Linked DNA regions of Homo sapiens: region 2 is linked to region 1. The links are contacts of gene promoters, found by promoter capture Hi-C in blood cells and fetal thymus (Javierre and others, 2016). All regions are on one chromosome and are shown on one strand. Each heading gives the region's core, a stretch centred on a gene start or on the middle of the fragment in contact. The rest is flanking DNA. Distances are from core to core; before and after follow the strand shown. Region 1 holds the start of C19orf12 (chromosome 19 open reading frame 12). Region 2 overlaps ZNF507 (zinc finger protein 507).

The links. The method cuts DNA at HindIII sites, captures the fragments that hold promoters and counts their contacts. A CHiCAGO score of 5 or more calls a contact.
Region 2: a contact is called between a fragment that was not itself captured here and the fragment with the promoter of C19orf12 in region 1, in 1 of 17 cell types (total CD8 T cells). The highest score is 7.1, in total CD8 T cells.

Annotation. Positions count from the first base shown.
Region 1 is chr19:29,714,011-29,717,896 of GRCh38, reverse strand. C19orf12 (chromosome 19 open reading frame 12) reads left to right here and starts at 2,636. Exons shown (of 3, transcript NM_031448.6): 1 at 2,636-2,772. RefSeq lists enhancers at 1,277-1,496, 2,042-2,141 and a silencer at 2,312-3,101. The HindIII fragment of the contact is 2,629 bases long and covers 1,350-3,886 here.
Region 2 is chr19:32,356,855-32,362,737 of GRCh38, reverse strand. It overlaps ZNF507 (zinc finger protein 507), which reads right to left. Exons shown (of 7, transcript NM_001136156.2): 5 at 2,120-2,234. Among named protein-coding and RNA genes, the nearest start is that of ZNF507, 14 kb to the right of the region's middle. The HindIII fragment of the contact is 197 bases long and covers 3,124-3,320 here.

The DNA of each region.
Region 1 (3,886 bases), core at 1,387-3,886:
GAGATTGCGCCACTGCACTCCCACCTGGGCCACAGAGCGAGACTCCGTCTCAAAAAAAAAAAAAAAAAAAAAAAAAAAAAAGAAACAACAAAAGAAGCTATAGGGTTTTTGGGTGTGGCCCACATTGCGGATCATCCAGCCCTGGTCTAGGTGGGTGGCTTTAGCCTGAAGGAGCCATGGAAGTTTTAGGAGCTGGTGCACTCAGCTTTGGGAGAAAGTGAGGGCATAGAACGCTGGCCCCGTCTGAGTTTTGACTCTGGCTGGCCGTGTGAACACCACCTAGCACCCTAGGGCATTGTTGGGCCCATCAGCAAGAGAATGTTTTGTCAAGGTGGGGGTAGAACTGGATTTCCCACTACCTTGGGCCCATGAGGCTCATGGGACTTTGGAGAAGCCGCTCATTTTCACATTCTGTAATGTAAACAAGAATAATCTAGATTCATATATATTACCTCCTTTTATGTTGAGAACAACCCTATAGGATAAGTACTACTCTTGTTGCCATTTCCCAGATGAGGAAACTGAGGCACGGAGACGTGGAAGAACTTTCCCTAGGTCACTGTAAGCAGCATAAAGCATCGCTGTGTGCTGGGCCAGTGCCATTTCCGCGCCACCACCGAGACCCCACGGCACGCCTTGCTCACTGTGCAGGAGGCCGCAGTTGCCTTTAGGAGCATGAGGCACTGTGTGCTCCATCTCTGGGGTTCAGAGTGTGCGGTCATGTTATGCCTGCATTCGTATCAGAATGAGGCCCAGGAGGCTGATGGGTTGCAGATTTGCATGCAATGGCGCGATCTCGGCTCACTGCAACCTCCATCTGCCGGGTCCAAGCGGTTCTCCTGCCTCAACCTCCCGAGTAGCTGGGACTACAGGCTTGCACCAACCATGTCTGGCTCATTTTTCCATGTTTAGTGGAGATGGGGTTTCACCATGTTGCCCAGGCTGGTCTCAAAGTCCTGGCCTCAGGTGATCTGCCCGCCTCGGCCTCCCAAAGTGCTGGGATTACAGGTGTGAGCCACCGCGCTGGGCTGCATGAACCTCTTACATGCTTGCCTTCTCTGGAGGGCCTGGACTTTGAAGCTTCTTTCACTCCCAGCATCTTTCCCTACACAGGCCCTCTTCCCCACTATCTCTGGGGGAGGAGTCTGCAGGCCAGTTCTGCAATGTGCCGCCAGAGGGAGCTGCCCGCAGAGAAACGGGAGCGCCACACTCAGGCCCCAGGAAGGCAGCAAGCTGAGTTCCCCTGGCCTCAGTTCACTTTCCCTCTTGAAAGTCACCCAAACTCAAGCAAAAGCTCCGATTCAGGAATAAATGGGGTTGTTTTATCCCAGCCAAGGCCTGGGGAAGCTTGGTATTAAGAGCGTTTGTTCCATTCTTTTAAAAATGGAAAAGGGTCCGTCCTCTGGGTGCCCATGGCACCCTGGAAAGCAGGCAGAGTGCTGGTCACAGGCGGAGACTTTGAGATACCGAGACCGAGGCTGGAGTTTGGGCCCTGAAACTTTCTAACCAGGATGGCCTTGGGCAGAGCAGCCTGTGTTTAGAGCTTCCCATCTGTAATATAGCAGTGACAACCATGCCTGCTTTGCAGGGTTCCTGTTAGGATTAATTCTCTATAGAGCCCCCCAGAAGCCACTTTTGGATTTGAGATGGTTCAAGGCCAGACCTTGCATGACAAGAGTAGGGACAGCTTTCCACAGGCCTCAATAAAGTAGTATTCCCAGGCAGTTCTGCAACCCCAGCCTCATGCCCTTTGCACCTTCCTAAGAGGCTGCCTTGCCTCAGCTTTGGTCCCCATCCAAGACTCCTAAGAGCAAAGCCAGTTCTTTTCCTTTTTTTTCTTTCTTTAAGAGACGGTCTCACTCTGTCACCCAGGTTGAAGTGCAGTGGTGGGATCATAGTTCACTGCAGCCTCGAACTCCTGGGCTCAAGCAATCCTCCCGCTTCAGCCTCCCAAAATGCTGTAGGTCACAGGTATGACTCACCCACCCGGCCTAATTTTTATTATTATTTGTAGAGATGGGATGTCACTGTGTTGCCCACGCTCGAACTGCTGGGCTCAAGCAATCCTCCCTCCTCAGCCTCACTGGCAGCTGGGATTACGAGTCCCACCCAACCTGCTTCTCCTTTTGCAACCCCCAGACCCAGAGGCTCCAGAGCAGGCTCTGGAACAGAGGAAATCTGGCTCCGGCCCACACATTCACCAAATACTGACGCAGCACCCTTGACCTCCAGATGCCCCTGTGCTCTCTTCTGTGCCCAGGCTGCGGGGAGAGAGGGGTCCTCCAGGCCAAAGGGAGGGAGGTCTCCGGGAGGTCCCCGCGGTCCTGGAGGCAGGTGCGCGGGGCCCGGATGTGATCATGCGTGCGCGTGGGAGAAAGGCAGGGCTGGGCCTGCGGGAGCGCGGCCTTGCGGTTCCCAGGACTCTTCTCCGGGCGCCTCGTCTCCTTACGCCACCCGCAACCCAAGCCAGGGCCCCGGTGACAGCGGCGGGGTGGGCCAGGACCGGGGAGGGGGTGCCCAGCAGCGACCCCCGGCTCCCCCTAAGGCCGGGCGCAGCTCGGAGCCAGGAGCTGGCCCGGCGCGTGGCTTCCCGGAAGGCCCGGCGCAGCCGGAAGGTGGGACGGAGGGCGGGGCCAGCGCCGGGGCCGCCACCAAGGCCTGCGCGACCCTCCGCGGGGCTGGGGAGCTGGGCGGGGAGCCCGGGGCCTGCCAGGCCCGGGCTGCAGCCGCGTCTGATCGCCGAGCGCGCCGCGTAGACCTCCGCTCCCCCAGGTAAAGGAGCGCCCGGAGCCGGGGCGGGGCGCCTCCCAGGCCGCGCCCCGCGAGAGGAGGGGGCACCCCAAGAGCAGGCCTGGAGACCCGGGAGTGCCTTGGGGAGAGGGTCCCCGCCCTGCCGGGAGCCCGGCCCTCCCGGTGCCGGGGTGGACACTGTTAGTGTAGTCATTGTCCCTATGGAGAAACTGAGGCATGGAGAGGCTGAAGTCACACAAGTAAGCAGCAGAGCTGGGACTAGAGTCCCGGGCCCTGGCTCGCTGTCACCCAGGAGTGGCGTAGGCATGGGTGTGGTGGGTGGGGGTGGGGTGCGGGTGGTGGATGTGGTGGGAGTGGGTGAGGTTGGGTGGGGTGGGGATGTGGGTTTGGCGGGGGTGGGGTGCGGAATGTGATGGGTAGGGGTGGGGTAGAGTGGGGGTGGCTGGTGGGGCAGGGGCGGGGCTGGGGGTGGGGTGCTAGGTATTATAAATGTGAAGCGGATCCTGACAGGACACCTGTGGGGCAGCGGAGCTGGGCTGAGCCATATGGGAAGAAAATCTGGGCGCTAGTTTAGATTTGGTCAGGAAGGGTCGTTAATGCTTTAGGAGGTGAGATTAGTTTTGGGGATGGCAGGTAGTTTGTTGAGCTTTTGTTTAGACAGTCTTGCTCTGTTGTCCAGGCTGGAGTGCAATGGCGCGATCTCGGCTCACTGCAACCTCCACCTCCCTCGTTCAAGCAATTCCCCTGCCTCAGCCTCCCTAGTAGCTGGGATTACAGGCGACACCACCAAGCCTGGCTAATTTTTTTGTATTTTTAGTAGAGACGGAGTTTCACCATATCGGCCAGGCTAATCTCAAACTCCTGACCTTGCGATCCACCTGCCTCAGCCTTCTGCAATGCTGGGATTACAGACGTGAGCCACCCCGACCAATTTTTGTATTTTTTAGTAGAGACGGGGTTTCACCATCTTGGAATAGCACCTGTAGTTCCAGCTACTCGGGAGGCCGAGGCGGAAGAATTGCTTGAGGCCAGTTCCCGACCAGCCTAGGCAACACAGGGAGACTGCGTTTCTGGAAAAAACAACAACAACACCAGCAACAACAAAAAGCAGGAAGGAAGGGGAGAGGGAAAGAGA
Region 2 (5,883 bases), core at 1,973-4,472, 2.6 Mb before region 1:
GTTGGTAGGAAGACCCTAGGACAACTGCAATGAATCCTATGAATCTGTGAATATTTTAAGAACACAAGAAAACATCCCTGAGACACTGACAGCTATCAAAATGAATCTTTAAGCTGCAAGACTGATCTAATAAAGCAGATGTAAAACCTTCAACAGAACTAGAATCGCTAACCTTTTTCCTAAGTATTTGAGGGTTTACTTGCTTATTGTTTGTCTACAAGTTCCATGACAGCAAAGATGACGTCTGTTTTGTTATGACTGTAGTCCAAGAATCTAGCACGGCCCCTGAAGCATAATATTTGCTCAATAAATATTTCTCCATGAATGAAAGAACAATCTAATTCTGGACCCGGAGAAATGTTATTTTCTTCTTACTTAAATCACATGAATCTGGCACGGTATGTCTAAATTCAAGGATACCAAAAATATAAAGGCAAAGCTTTCTCCTCCTATCAGGTAAACTAGTGTTCCCTGTTTCCATCACATTCTCCTAAACATTTCCCAGTATAAATCACGAATGTAAATATACTCAGTCCCACCTATTAAATAGACTGATTGGACATGGTGTAACCATGTAATCCCAGCACTTTGGGAGGCCAAGGTGGGCGGACACTTGAGGCCAGGAGTTCAAGACCTGGCGAAACCCCGTCTCTAATTAGCTAATCATGGCACATGCCTGTGGTCCCAGCTACTTGGGAGGCTGAGGCATGAGAATCACTTGAACCCGGGAGGCGGAGGTTGCCGTGAGGTGAGATCACTCCACTGCACTCCAGCCTGGGTGATGACAGAGCGAGACTCTGTCAAAGAAAAAAAGGAAGGAAGGAAGGAAGGAAGGAGGGAGGGAGGGAGGGAGGGGAGGGAAAGGAAAGGAAGGAAAGGAAGGAAGGAAAGGAAGAAAGGAAAGGAAGAAAGGAAAGGAAGGAAGGAAACGAAGGAAGGAAAGGAAGGAAGGAGGGAGGGAGAGAGGGAGGGAGGGAAGAAAAGGAAAGGAAGGAAAGGAAAGGAAGGAAAGGAAGAAAGGAAAGGAAGGAAGGAAAGGAAGGAAAGGAAGGAAGGAAAGGAAGGAAGGAAGAAAAGAAGGAAGGAAGGAAAGAAGGAAGGAAGGAAGACACTGAGGAGGACTGAGGCAAGGTCAAACACCTTCCACAGAGTTTTAAGACTCTGCAAACAGATGTACTTTCTGAAGAGTGATTATAAGTAAGTCTGCTGGTTTGCAAATTAAGCACATATTAAATATTCGAAACCATACACAGATCACCACACTTTGGGATTAAACAATGACCTTTTATGGCACAATCTGTCAGGTTTTCATTGAGATTAATACAATAACTTTCCCACACTCACTTGTATCATATCTACAGAATCTGGGGAGAGAGTTAAACCTGCTAAGTTTTGACAAGGGGGTGAAAGTTCATGCGCATTGCCTAGCACTATCACTGAGAATGCCTATATTTTCTGAAATATATATCTGAATTTGCTTTTGGGAAAAATCAAGTAATGAAATTAAATGACTTATTCTACACATACTAGCTTAATTTTGAAAAATGGACTCTTTCATAGAAAATTTTATTGCCTTTAAGTTTTAAGGATCTTTTGCTGAATACTGAGTACCTTACTGCCAAATTACTGAAATGAACTCTAAGGCATTGAAAATTGCTATGAAATTTATACCCATATGAAATGAAAACATAAAATTGACAGATAAAGACAATTTCCTATGTATCAACTAGACAAAATGCCTACTGTCCTAAGATTCAAGCTTAAAGTTCACATCTTAACAAATCAAACAAGACATAATACCAGCCAGGTGCAGTGGCTCACGCCTGCAATCCCAGCACTTTGGGAGGCTGATGTGGGAGGATCCCTTGAGGCCAGGAGTTCGAGGCTGCAGTGAGCTGTGATCATACCACTGCACTCCAGCCTGGGCAATACAGCAAGACACTGACTCAAAAAATAAATAAGTAAATATATAAAACAACAAAATATAAAACCAATTAGTGAAAATTTCTTACTTCTTAACCTGTGTTTCAGTAAGTGCTATACATTTTTATTTCATTTTATTTCTTTAATATAAAATATTTTAATACAAACATTAAAATTCTAGAATCATAACACTTACCTGTACGGCTTATCAGAGTTATGGATTCGCCTGTGGTTTCTGACACCAACATATGTTGTACTTGTATAATCACACACATCACATCTATATTGTTTCTGGACTGAAGACTTATTCCCTAGACAAGGTATTTCAGAGTTTTAGTAGCAGGCTTTGACAAGATTCAAATGACAGCATTTACATTCCATTGTAAATGAAAATTTATACCACACAGTTGTATTAATATTTCAATCACGGCTTTCTCACTGTTTTAACAAGTCTGAAGTGGTTTTATAGGTTTTCCTGCATATACACTATCAGCAGATATAAACTGAACATCATCTGACCTATAAACACAGATAGGTTGGGATGATTCCTGCATAACCATGTACAATATTCTAAGTCATAATGAACTTGCTTCTGGCTATGTAGGAGCTAAATTAATCAGAGACACCCTGTTGATCTGTATCACCAAATAGGTGTTACTCTAACCAATATTGGATATACTGTCTTACAGAAACACTGACTTGACAACAAGCTGTAATTTAATACTATACTCCAATATTATAAAGTGTGGCTATGAAGCATATATAACCAACTCAATATAAAAAGCCTGGCTAGGTGTGGTGGCTCATGCCCATAATCCTAGTACTCTGGGAGGCTGAGGTGGGAGGACTGCCGGAGGCCAGGAGCTGGAGACCAGCCTGGGCAACAGAGCAAGAGATCTCTCCCCCACTCTCACCCTACAAAAAAAAAGCCTAAGGCCTTTTCACCCAGTGCATTTTCTTTGTTTACCACTAAACGTCAGCTACCAACGCAACAAGAAAGGAAAAGCGGCCGCAAATTTTTAAGTGCTATGCAATGTATAATTCTTTCTAGTTAACTGACAGGTTACAGGGACAAAGGTTATGACTGACATGAATATGCAGCTCTCCGAAACGCAGGAGACATGGATCCAACGAAAAGTAGCCATGTTACTAAACTCACTCTGCAACAACAGGGCTGAGTAATTCAAGTTGGGGTAAGCTTATGTCAACACGAGTTGAGTGACTTGATCATATAAAACGATTTCTTGAAGATATTCAACGCTTCATGTACTTGTCTGTCAGCATACAGTCCACAGGCTATTCACACTCTGCTTTATATTCAGAAACAAAGCAAGCATGGAAGCTCATGAAAAAGGCAGAGCAGGAAGAACTGTGTGTCTCTTGGCAGGAAGAAAGCTTAGGTAGAACACCTGTATACACCGCATAAAAGTAAAATCCGTGGTATTATACAAAGGAAAACCCACACTGAAATTTCAACAAAGAAAATCCTTAAGTTAAATTTACGGTTTCTAAAATTGAAATTTTCTTTTGCTAATAACTACTGCCAAGCAGAACAAAATGTCCTAATTTCCTGGTATAAATCTATAACGTTAATATACACACTAATCATAATTATAATCTAAGTATTGCTCTTAATTGGTAGGTTAAAAACTTGGACTTGATTATAAATGGCACTGTTCCAAATACAGTTTTAAAAAAACCCTAAAAAATGAAGTGTGAAATATTGGATAATGGTTTTGTGTGAGAAATATTACAGATCAATGACAACTAATAAAACTGACAGATGGAAAAACTTAATATAGCACAGAATGAGAGCCTGTGCTACTTCAAGCAACTGTTTCCAATGGAAAGAATATTGGATTTAAAGTTCAAAAACTTGGGCTTAGTCCTCGCTCTGCCACTTTCTACCAGTATGATCATGGGTAAATTATTTTGCCTCTTGAAGTCTCAGTTTTCTCATCTACAAATTGGAAATGCTAGAACCTCACAGCATAGTTTAGTAAGTCCTATATTTTTCCTTTAGCAAAGTCTGTACTTTACCTGCATGTCTGGGTAAAATCTCTGCCCTGCCACTAAGCTGTCTATTCCCTGAGGATAAGGATCTGCTTGTTTTGTTTAGACTGAATCCCCAGCGCTTGGCAAATTATAGGTTTCCAATAAAAAACAATTTAATTAGGTTTCATGGAGTAACACCATACGAAAGGGCTTTGCTTGCGGCTCTATTTGAGCTCCTGCGGTATCTGCTGACATACCCATCAGCCTCGTTCTGTCTTCTTCACTGAGTTGGATTCCTGAAGGGCAGTGATGCCTTTCACTGTACTCCCAGCACCTAACACAGTATCTAGCTCAAGACAGGCAGGCCATGCCTTTTGGCCAAGCAAATGTTAAGCTGAAACATGCCCTAAGGTATCTGTGCTATCTGAATGGCAGAGACTGAGGATCACAGAGGCACAAATCTCTCTTCTTGTTTAACAAGTTTACTAAATAGGTAAAGAAGTTTTAACAAAGCATGAATTATTATTACCTTATTTGTGAGCTAAAAATTTTTTCTTTGGCCTGACAACCAGATTTCAAAATATCTAATATTGAGTTAATAAAGTACCCATCCAGGTATAAGTATGCAGCCATTTGAACTGCTACAGTACTGAGAGAAAAAAGCAAATGGAGCCAGGTGGAGGAAAAGAGGCATGGCAGGCAATTTAAAAATCCATGCATGTAACCCTAAAAAAAAAGCATGAGCCACAAAGAAAAGATGCTGCAACATAAAATCTAGTAAACATTCATTAATACTGTAAAGTCTGAAGTGGTTATTTTAATTTTGAGCTGACACTTTAATCTTTTTATTAAAATTGTGAATTTTAATGTTAACTCATTTGGACAGTTTGAAATGTTTGCTTTTTAGGACGGTGCTAAAAAAGACATCTTCCAACACTGATATTAACTGCAGGTGGTGCTACTGAGTAGTATTTACTTCATCCTTTCATTAGGGATTTATGGTCCAATCATATCAGACGTTTTAATGTCTCCTTTAAAGGGGATATGGAAACATAATGAATTAAAATAAAAGGAGGCATTTAGGGCTATTTTGTAAAAAGGAAACAAAACTGTTTTAGCTCAGCCATCTACTGCAAAAACAGATGCTATATCATAAACTCCTTTTGTTTCAGAGAGTTTTACAGGGATGACATCTGTTTGACATGAGAATTTTGGTGCTACAGTGGTGTCAAAATCAGTTCTTTCAGAAGCATTCTAGAATCAGTTATGCTTTCTGGGGTATAATTTAATGAAACATTATGGTAAAACATTTCACTCTGTAGTCGTTTCTAACTTTAATTCTTAGCAAATCTAAAAGGGAAAGTCACCCCAATATGTCTTATCTCCCATAAACATTATGTGCCACACTGGAGACATTTAAAGTATATCAATTTAAGTGAGCTGAACCAAAGCGGCACAGCTTAGTACACTTTATCCTTAATTCTCCGGATGTGGCATCCGCCTTTTCATGGAGCTCTAATTAAATCTTTTGATTCTAATATTCTTATTACCAGAAACTCGGTTGACTGCTACTTAACTAGTACATAAAAAGATCTTGTGTGTCTGTGTGTGTGCTTTTTTTTTTTTAATAATGCAGATGAAATCTGGCAGTCATACTTGGGTAAGAATAAGATCACAGCGGGGAGCCCCAGTTAAAGTTTGGGGTGGGGGCCTACCATCTGCAAAAGCTCTGTTCTCAGTAGGTCAACTGGTGCCGAGAGAGGGAGGGGAGGCCTGTTTTCCATGTTGTAGCTTTTCTGGCTTGCTTTTCTGGCTTGCTGGTACATCACCTTCTAAGGGGCTCTTAAGTTTCAACTGAAGATGAATCCTTACTATCTAGGGCTTCTCACCTAGGACCTAGTAATCATCTGCTTCATTCAGTACTTGGCATTTCCTCAGAAACAGAGATCAGATTCACTCACATCC